3 separate regions of the Homo sapiens genome follow, and all the other regions are linked to region 3. Evidence: promoter capture Hi-C in 16 types of primary human blood cells and fetal thymus (Javierre and others, 2016). All regions are on one chromosome and are shown on one strand. Each heading gives the region's core, a stretch centred on a gene start or on the middle of the fragment in contact. The rest is flanking DNA. Distances are from core to core; before and after follow the strand shown. Region 1 overlaps IGF2R (insulin like growth factor 2 receptor). Region 2 overlaps IGF2R (insulin like growth factor 2 receptor). Region 3 holds the start of TCP1 (t-complex 1).

Region 1 (2,700 bases), core at 175-2,674, 230 kb before region 3:
TGACTTTTTAATAATTGCCATTTTTGACTGGTATAAGATGGTATCTCATTGTGGGGTTTTTTTTTATTACGTTCCATATATGCAGTTTATTTTTTTTTTCCTAAACTTTTTTTTTTAATTTTATTATTATTACACTTTAAGTTTTAGGGTACATGTGCACAACGTGCAGGTTTGTTACATATGTATACATGTGCCATGTTGGTGTGCTGAACCCATTAACTCGTCATTTAGCATTAGGTATATCTCCTAATGCTATCCCTCCCCCCGCCCCCCACCCCACAACAGTCCCAGGTGTGTGATGTTCCCCTTCCTGTGTCCATGTGTTCTCATTGTTCAATTCCCACCTATGAGTGAGAACATACGATGTTTGGTTTTTTATCCTTGCGACAGTTTGCTGAGAATGATGGTTTCCAGTTTCATTCATGTCCCTACAAAGGACATGAACTCATCATTTTTATGGCTGCATAGTATTCCATGTGGTTTTATAATAATTTGTATATTTCTCTGATGATTAGTGATGTGGAGTATGTTTAGGAGATTCTTGGCCATTTGTATGTCTTCTTTAGAGAAATGTTTGTTCACGTCCTTTGCTCACTTCTTAAAGGGATTGTGGTTTTTCTTGTTGAGTTGTCTGCATTCTTTGTAGATTCTGAATATCAATCCTTTGTTGAATGTAGAGTTTAAAAACACTTTTGGCCATTTTGTATGTTGTCTGTTCACTCTGCTGACTATGTATTTTGCTGTGCAGAAGTTTTTAAGTTTAATAAAGTCCCATTTCTCTATTTTTATTTTTGTTGCATTTGCTTTTGAAGTCTTAGTCATGAATTCTTTGCCTAGGCGAAGATCCGAGAGAGCTTTTCCTGGGTTTTCTTCTGGGAATTTTATAGTTTCAGGCAGGCCTTACATTCAAGTCGCTAATCCGACCTGAGTTAATTTTTATATGTGGTAAGAGATAGGGGTCCAGTTTCATTCTTCCGCATATGGCTGTCCAGTTTTCCCAGAACCATTTACTAAATAGGGTGTCCTTTCCCCAGTGTATGTTTTTGTCAACTGTGTCAAAGATCAGTTGGTTGTAAGTATGCAGCTTTGACTCTGGGTTTTCTATTCTGTTCCATTAATCTGTGTGTCTATTTTTCTATCAGTACTAGCTGTTTTGATTACTATAGCCCTCCAGTAAAATCTGTAGGTGGGTATTGTGATGCCTCTAGCTTTGTTCATTTTCCTTAAGATTGGTTTGGCTATTAAGATTTTTTGGGGGACCACATGAATTTTAGGACTTTTTCTAATTCCATAAAAAATGACGTTGGCATTTTGATAGGAATTGCATTGAATCTGTGGATTGTTTCGGGCAATATAATCATTTTAATGATATTGATTCTTCCAATTCATGAACATGGGATGTTTTCCCACTTCTGCTATCTACAATTTCTTTCATCAGTGTTTTACAGTTTTCCTTGTAGAGATTTTTCACCTCCTTGGCTAAATGTATTTCTAGTGGGTTTTTTTTTTTTAGTGATTATAAATGGGATTGACTTCTTGATTTGATTCTCAGCTTGATCATTACTGGTGTGTAGAAATGTTATTGATTCTTGTACAATGACTCTGTATCCTGAAACTACTGAATTCACGTATCAAATCTAAGAGACTTTTGGAGGAAACTTTAGAGTTTTCTAGGTATAAGATCATATCATCAGCACACAGAGACACGTTGACTGTCTCTTTTCTGATCTGGATGCGTTTTCTTTCTCTTGCCTGACTGCCCCAGGTAGGACTTCCAGTACTATGTTGAATAGGAGAGATGAAAAAGTGGGCATCATTGTCTTGTTCCACTTCTTAGGGGAAATGCTTTCAACTTTTCCCTGTTCAGTACGATGCTGGCTGTGGTTCTGTCGTATATGCCTTTTATTATTCTGAGGTATGTCCCTTCTAATATTTTTTGAGTGTTGTCTTTTCATTAAGGGATGTTGAATTTCATCAAATGCTTTTTCTGTATCTCCTGAGATGGTCAGACTTTTTTTTAAATTGTTTAAATGGTGAATCACATTTATTGATTTGCATACACTGAACCATCCTTGCAACCCTGGAATAAAACCCACTTGATCGTGATGTATTATTTTTCTGAAGTGCTGTTACATTCAGTTTGCTAGTATTTTGTTGAGATTTTTGAATCTGTTTATCATAGATATTGGCCTCTAGTTTTCTTTCTTTGTTGTGTGCTTGTTTGGCTTTGGTTATCAGGATAATATTGGCTTCAAATAATGAGTTAGGGAGGATTCCCTCCTCTGATTTTTGGTAACAGTTTCAGTAGGATTTGTGCTAGTTCTTCCCTGTGCCTCTGGGAGAATTCAGCTGTCAATCTGTCTGGTCCTGAGCTTTTTTTGTTGGGAGGTTTTTGTTTTGTTTTGTTTTGTTTGTTTTGTTTTTCTTAAATTACTGATTCAATCCCAATACTTGTTATTGGTCTTTTTGGAATTTCTATTTCTTCCTGGTTGAATCTCAGGAACTTGAATGTTTCCAGAAATGTACACATTTCCTCTAAATTTTCTCAGTTGTGAGTACACAGATGTTCACAGAAGTCTCTTATGATCTTTTTTGTGGTATCAGCTGTAATGTCTACTTTCTTATTTCTGATTGAATCCTCTCTCTTCTGGTTAATCTGACCAACAGTCTATGAATATTATCTTTCCAAAGAACCAACTT
Region 2 (2,700 bases), core at 78-2,577, 210 kb before region 3:
AATATTAATATTTGATGTGTTAGAAAAAAATGTGAATGTATTTGGTATTTTTACTGCAATGTTTAATATAACTCCAATCCAAAGTTTATAACTCAGCAATTAATTCAGACTTACGACACAGTATTAGAACATTTAAGAGAATTTTAGAATTAGAAATTTTAGAATTTTAGCATAACTAGTAAATATATAAGAATTATTAAATAATAATACTCATAAATTTATAATTATTGTTACACTGAAATTTTAACTGTTAAGCCAGACATCTGAGGTACTTGAAAAGGAAATCAAATGCAGTTGAACTGCAAAGGTCTGAACTTCCCAGGTCCACTTATACACAGATTTTCTTTCACCTCGGTAACCCCAGAACAACAAGACCAGTCCCTCCTCTTCCTCCTCCTACTCAGCCTACGCAACATGAAGACAATAAGGACGAAGATCTTTATATGATGATCCACTGCCGCTCAATGAATAATAAACATAATTTTCTCTTCCTTATCATTTGTTTTTTCCTGAGACAAGCTCTCACTACTCTCTTACCTAGGCAGGAGTACAGTGGCCTGATTACAGCTCATTGAGGCCTCCACCTCCTGGGCTCAAGCAATCCTCCTGCCTCAGCCTCCCAAGTAGTTGGGACTACAGGCATGCACCACCATGCCTGGCTAATTTTTTTATTTTTTGCAGAGATGGGGTTCCACTATGTTGTCCAAGCTGGTCTCAAACTTCTGGGCTCAAGTGATCCTCCCACCTCAGCCTCCCAAAGTGCTGTGATTACAGGTGTGAGCCACCACACCCGGCCTGATTTTCTTAATATTTTCTTTCCTTTAGCTTACTTTATTGTAAGAATATAGTACTTAATACATATAACATGCAAAATATGTGTTGATCGACTATTTATGTTTCTGGTAAAGCTTCCCATCAACAGCAGGCTATTAGCAGCTAAGGTTAGAGGGAGTGAAATGTTAAATGTGGATTTTCAACTGTGCAGGGGGTTGGTGCCCCTAACTCTAGCGTTGTTCAAGGGTCAAATGCATATAAAATGTATAAACCACTTTAAAATGTGAAAATAATTAGGTTGCAAATGGGACCAAATATTGTTCACAGGCCCTATGAAAATGATGGCTAACATTTGCTAAGATTCACATATGTAATATTGTTTGCCTAAGGAAAAACTAATGTATGATTTTTTTAATTTCTTCTGAGCTCCTTGGATGTGTGGATAATGTATGATTCCTCAATTTAAAATAATGTAATATTGTTTAAACCAGCATTGAGGTCTTAATATTTGTTTCTCACTATAAAAAATTTTAGGGCAGCAGCCCCCAACCTTGTTGGCACCAGAGACTGGTTTCATGAAAGACAGTTTTTCCATGGACTTGGACTGGGGGTGGGATGGTTTCGGGATGATTCAAGCATATTACATTTATTGTACCCTTTATTTCTATTATTATTACATTGTAATATGTAATTGAAATAATTATACAACACACCACAGTGCAGAATCAGTGGAAGCCCCGAGCTTGTTTTCATGCAACTAGATGGTCCCATCTGGGGGTGATGGGAGACACTGACAAATCATCAGGCACTAGATTCTCATAAGGGGTCACAACCTAGATCCCTTGCATGTGCAGTTCACAATAGGGTTCGCGCTCCTATAAGCATCTACTGCTGCCACTTATCTAACAGGATGCAGAGCTCAGGCAGTAGTGCAAGCAATGGGGAGCGGCTGTAAATACAGACGAAGCTTCACTCTGTCACCCACCACTCACCTCCTGCTGTGCAGCCCAGCTCCTAACAGGCTACAAACCGCTACCAGTCTGTGGCCCGGGGGTTGAGGACCCCTGCTTCAGGGCACTTTAAAACTCATACCAGGCCAGGCGTGGTGGCTCACACCTGTAATCCCAGCACTTTGGGGGGCCAAGGCGGGTGGATCACTTGAGGTCAGGAGTTCAAGACCAGCCTGGCCAACATGGTGAAACCCCATCTCTACTAAAAATACAAAAAAAAAATTAGCCGGACATGGTGGTGCCCGTAATCCAAGCTACTCAGGAGGCTGAAGCAGGAGAATCGCTTAAACCCAGGGGGCGGAGGATGCAGTGAGCCAAGATGGCGCCACTGCACTCCGGCCTGGGCAACAGAGCAAGATTCTGTCTCAAAAAAAAAAAAAAAAAAAAAAAAACAACCTCACACCAACTATTATCTTCCCAAAAGGATTTAGAGACAACCGTCTTCCTACAGCAACGTATAAATAAATGTGCCCATTTCCAGGCTCCTTGCCAGCACTCTATGATTCAACCATTTAAATTTCTGCCAACTTCTCAAAGAAAAATGAGATCTCATAATTGCTCTGATTTGCATTTATACCTGGTGATGCGGCTTAGCTCTGTCTCGCCACCCAAATCTCATGATGAATTGTGATCCCGAGTGTTGGAGGTGGGGCCTGGTGGGAGGTAACTGGATCACGGGGCTGGTTTCCAATGGTGTAGCACCATCCCCAAGTGCTGTCTCGTGATAAGAGTTCTCACTAGATGTGCTTGTTTGAAAGTGTGTAGCACCGCCCCACTCCTCTCCTGTCACCATGTGAAGAAGCTGCCTGCTTCCCCTTCACCTGCTGCCATGATTTTAAGTTTCCTGAGGCCTCCCCAGCCATGCTTCCTACACAGCCTTCAGAACTGTGAATCCAACCTCTCTCCTTCATAAATT
Region 3 (2,700 bases), core at 10-2,509:
CTTTTACACCCCCAATCTTTAGGCCCGAGGGGACGAAAAATACGTATGCCCACAGGGTGGAGTCAGCACTGACCCCGTCCTTAACTTCCTACTGTGGTCTTCGCAGTGCCGCGAGCTCTATTTCGATCCGGCACGTCGAATACAAAATAGAACCCGCACGTTCCAATGTACTGTGCAAGCCCAGGCGAGTGAGCTGGGAGAAGGGGGGCAAGACTAATTACCAGGGTTCCTGCAAACCGAGAACAACCCCCAAAACCGCGACCGAAGCGCCATCGCTGAGACGATCTCGGAAAAGCCTCGCCTCTTTTTCCTCACGGACGACTCAGTCGCTCGCCAGGAGCAGCCATATAAAGTCAGGGACAAGCCTTTGGCTGCTGTAGATCCCCAAACTCTCCACGCCAGACGCCACCGACCCGGAAGTAGCAAGTCCCCTGCCACTGAGTGGCCGAGAAGGCGATCTGTTATCCTTCATCGCCAATCATCGCTCACGTCGAGGGGCACGCAGGCCCTGGAGCCCACCAACCACCTCGTAGCTACGCCCAAGACCACGCTTGTTGCTTAAGTCCGGGGTCAAAGGCACACACCCCACAAAACCATGTTTGGGTTTTCTACTCGGAGAGCTTGGGCGGTCATCGACTGGTCCACACACACCCCACCTGGGCACCGCGTAGGAATAAGGCAGGGCAAGATGCAGTTTTCTCCTTAAAAAGGGTGGTTGTCTTCCTCGAACCAAAAATTTTCCCGTATGGCCCGCTGGAAAAACTGCCCCGTCCCACCCAGGTTCGCGCCCTTAAACTTACACTCCTGAGGCCTGGAGCAAAGCCGGCCGATCTGCCTCACGCTCCCCGAGCAGGGACAAGGAAAAGACACTAAACCTAAAACGCACGACTCGCTCAGAACCCCAACTCTAACTTGGAGAAGGGCCCGCCCCTCCAGTTACACCCCAGCTCCAAGCTCCACCCTTCTTACAACCTTTTCTAGAAGGCACTAGAATGGCCCACTGCGTCTGCGCAACATCGTTTGAGGCGAAGGTTCAACCTCTTCCCAGCGGTCCAACATCCGACTTCCGTTCTCCGCTTTCGCGCCCTTCCCATCGGCTATCTAATTGGACAAAAATGCCGACCCCGCCCCTTCCCCGGAGCCTCACTTCCGTCACAGTCCTGTTTCTCTCCCTGTTGTCCCTGCCTCTTTTTCCTTCCCGCCGTGCCCCGCGGCCGGGCCGGGGCAGCCGGGAAGCGGGTGGGGTGGTGTGTTACCCAGTAGCTCCTGGGACATCGCTCGGGTACGCTCCACGCCGTCGCAGCCACTGCTGTGGTCGCCGGTCGGCCGAGGGGCCGCGATACTGGTTGCCCGCGGTGTAAGCAGAATTCGACGTGTATCGCTGCCGTCAAGATGGAGGGGCCTTTGTCCGTGTTCGGTGACCGCAGCACTGGGGAAACGATCCGCTCCCAAAACGGTAAGGGCGGGCCGGGCCTGGGTCGGGTTTGCGGCCGGGGAGGGCCGAGTCCCACCGCGACCGGACCCCGGCTGCCCTCGTTTCTCTCCTTTACCTCCGCAGAAAGGGCCTCGGGGCCCCGCAGCCGGACCCAGCCCACCCGCCGTTCTCTGGGGCAGGGCGCTGTGGCCCCACTTTTCCCACAGCGAGGAGGAGCCCCGCCGCGCGCGGCAGGGTTTTGAGACCGGCAACGCGTGGATGTGGTGTCCGGGGCGGCGTTGGAAACGCGCCCTCCGCGGGAAAGCGGGCCTCCCGGGCTCGCACGTGCGGGCCACGCCTCGCACCCCCTTTTGTTTCAGGGCGACCCCCTGAGTGTCCATGTTAAACGCCAGGTTTTATTTTAGGACCATTTACCAGAAAAAGAGTAGGTCCATCCGCGCGCCCTCGGATGAGCCCGGTGCCCTGTCCGCCCGCAGCTGCAGTCGAGGTCGGGCGTCCGGCGTCCAGCCGTATCCGGGTTGACAGCTTCTTACAGTAGAGTTAGCCCAGGAAACGCCACTCGAGTGCATTGACCCCAGGAGACGGCAGCGCTAACTTAGCAGAGCGTTTGCTGTCAGGCCTTTGGATACCTACAGAGCTTACTGTTTCTTGATAGATTCCTAATTTTTTTCGTAAACAAATCTGAAAGTCACCACCTTCCCCGTTGACTACCGATTTCTCTCCTCACAGATAAAGAGAGTTTTAATGAGCAAAAAACTTGCAGAATCTGAAGGAAAAGGCTGGTATAGCTGTACGAAGTGGCAGAGCATGAAATTGGTGGTTATTACTTTTTTTTTTTTTCCCCGCCATCAGATTCCACCCCGCATCAAAGCTGTGCCAAATAGGCTCGCTTTGTTTAGGGACAGGGTCCCACCTGTCGCCCAGACGAGAGTGCCATCATAGCTCACTGCATTCTCCAAGCACAGGTCCGCGCCGCCGCATCCGGCTTTGTTTTTATTTTTTGTAGAAATGGGTTTCGCTATGTTGCCCAAAGGGGTCTCAAACTCCTGGCATCAAGCGATCCTCCTGCCTCGGCCTCGCAGTGTTGGGATTACACCTGTGAGCCACAGTGTCTGGCCCCATTTACACTCTTAGTAGGTGGTTTTTAAATAATTAACACAGATTTGTAGATTTGGGAAATACGGGGGCTGTTGGATGTCATTTACCTTTAGGCTGAAATTACTGTCTTTCAGAGTTGTGGCTTATCCTCATTTCTTTTTTATTTT

The links. Contacts are between HindIII fragments. The CHiCAGO score rates a contact against its expected background, and 5 or more counts as called.
Region 1: a contact is called between a fragment that was not itself captured here and the fragment with the promoter of TCP1 in region 3, in 1 of 17 cell types (neutrophils). The highest score is 6.8, in neutrophils.
Region 2: a contact is called between a fragment that was not itself captured here and the fragment with the promoter of TCP1 in region 3, in 1 of 17 cell types (neutrophils). The highest score is 5.4, in neutrophils.

What each region holds. Positions count from the first base shown.
Region 1 is chr6:160,019,022-160,021,721 of GRCh38, reverse strand. The region is part of intron 4 of IGF2R (insulin like growth factor 2 receptor); the gene reads right to left. Among named protein-coding and RNA genes, the nearest start is that of AIRN, 13 kb to the right of the region's middle. The HindIII fragment of the contact is 6,450 bases long and covers 1-2,700 here.
Region 2 is chr6:160,000,205-160,002,904 of GRCh38, reverse strand. All of the region lies in intron 2 of IGF2R (insulin like growth factor 2 receptor), which reads right to left. Among named protein-coding and RNA genes, the nearest start is that of AIRN, 6.1 kb to the left of the region's middle. The HindIII fragment of the contact is 833 bases long and covers 911-1,743 here.
Region 3 is chr6:159,788,161-159,790,860 of GRCh38, reverse strand. It overlaps TCP1 (t-complex 1), which reads left to right and starts at 1,259. Exons shown (of 12, transcript NM_030752.3): 1 at 1,259-1,456. The coding sequence starts at 1,393. MRPL18 (mitochondrial ribosomal protein L18) reads right to left here and starts at 394. Exons shown (of 4, transcript NM_014161.5): 1 at 222-394. The coding sequence starts at 273. RefSeq lists enhancers at 207-266, 297-476, 733-1,396, 1,397-2,061. The HindIII fragment of the contact is 4,019 bases long and covers 1-2,700 here.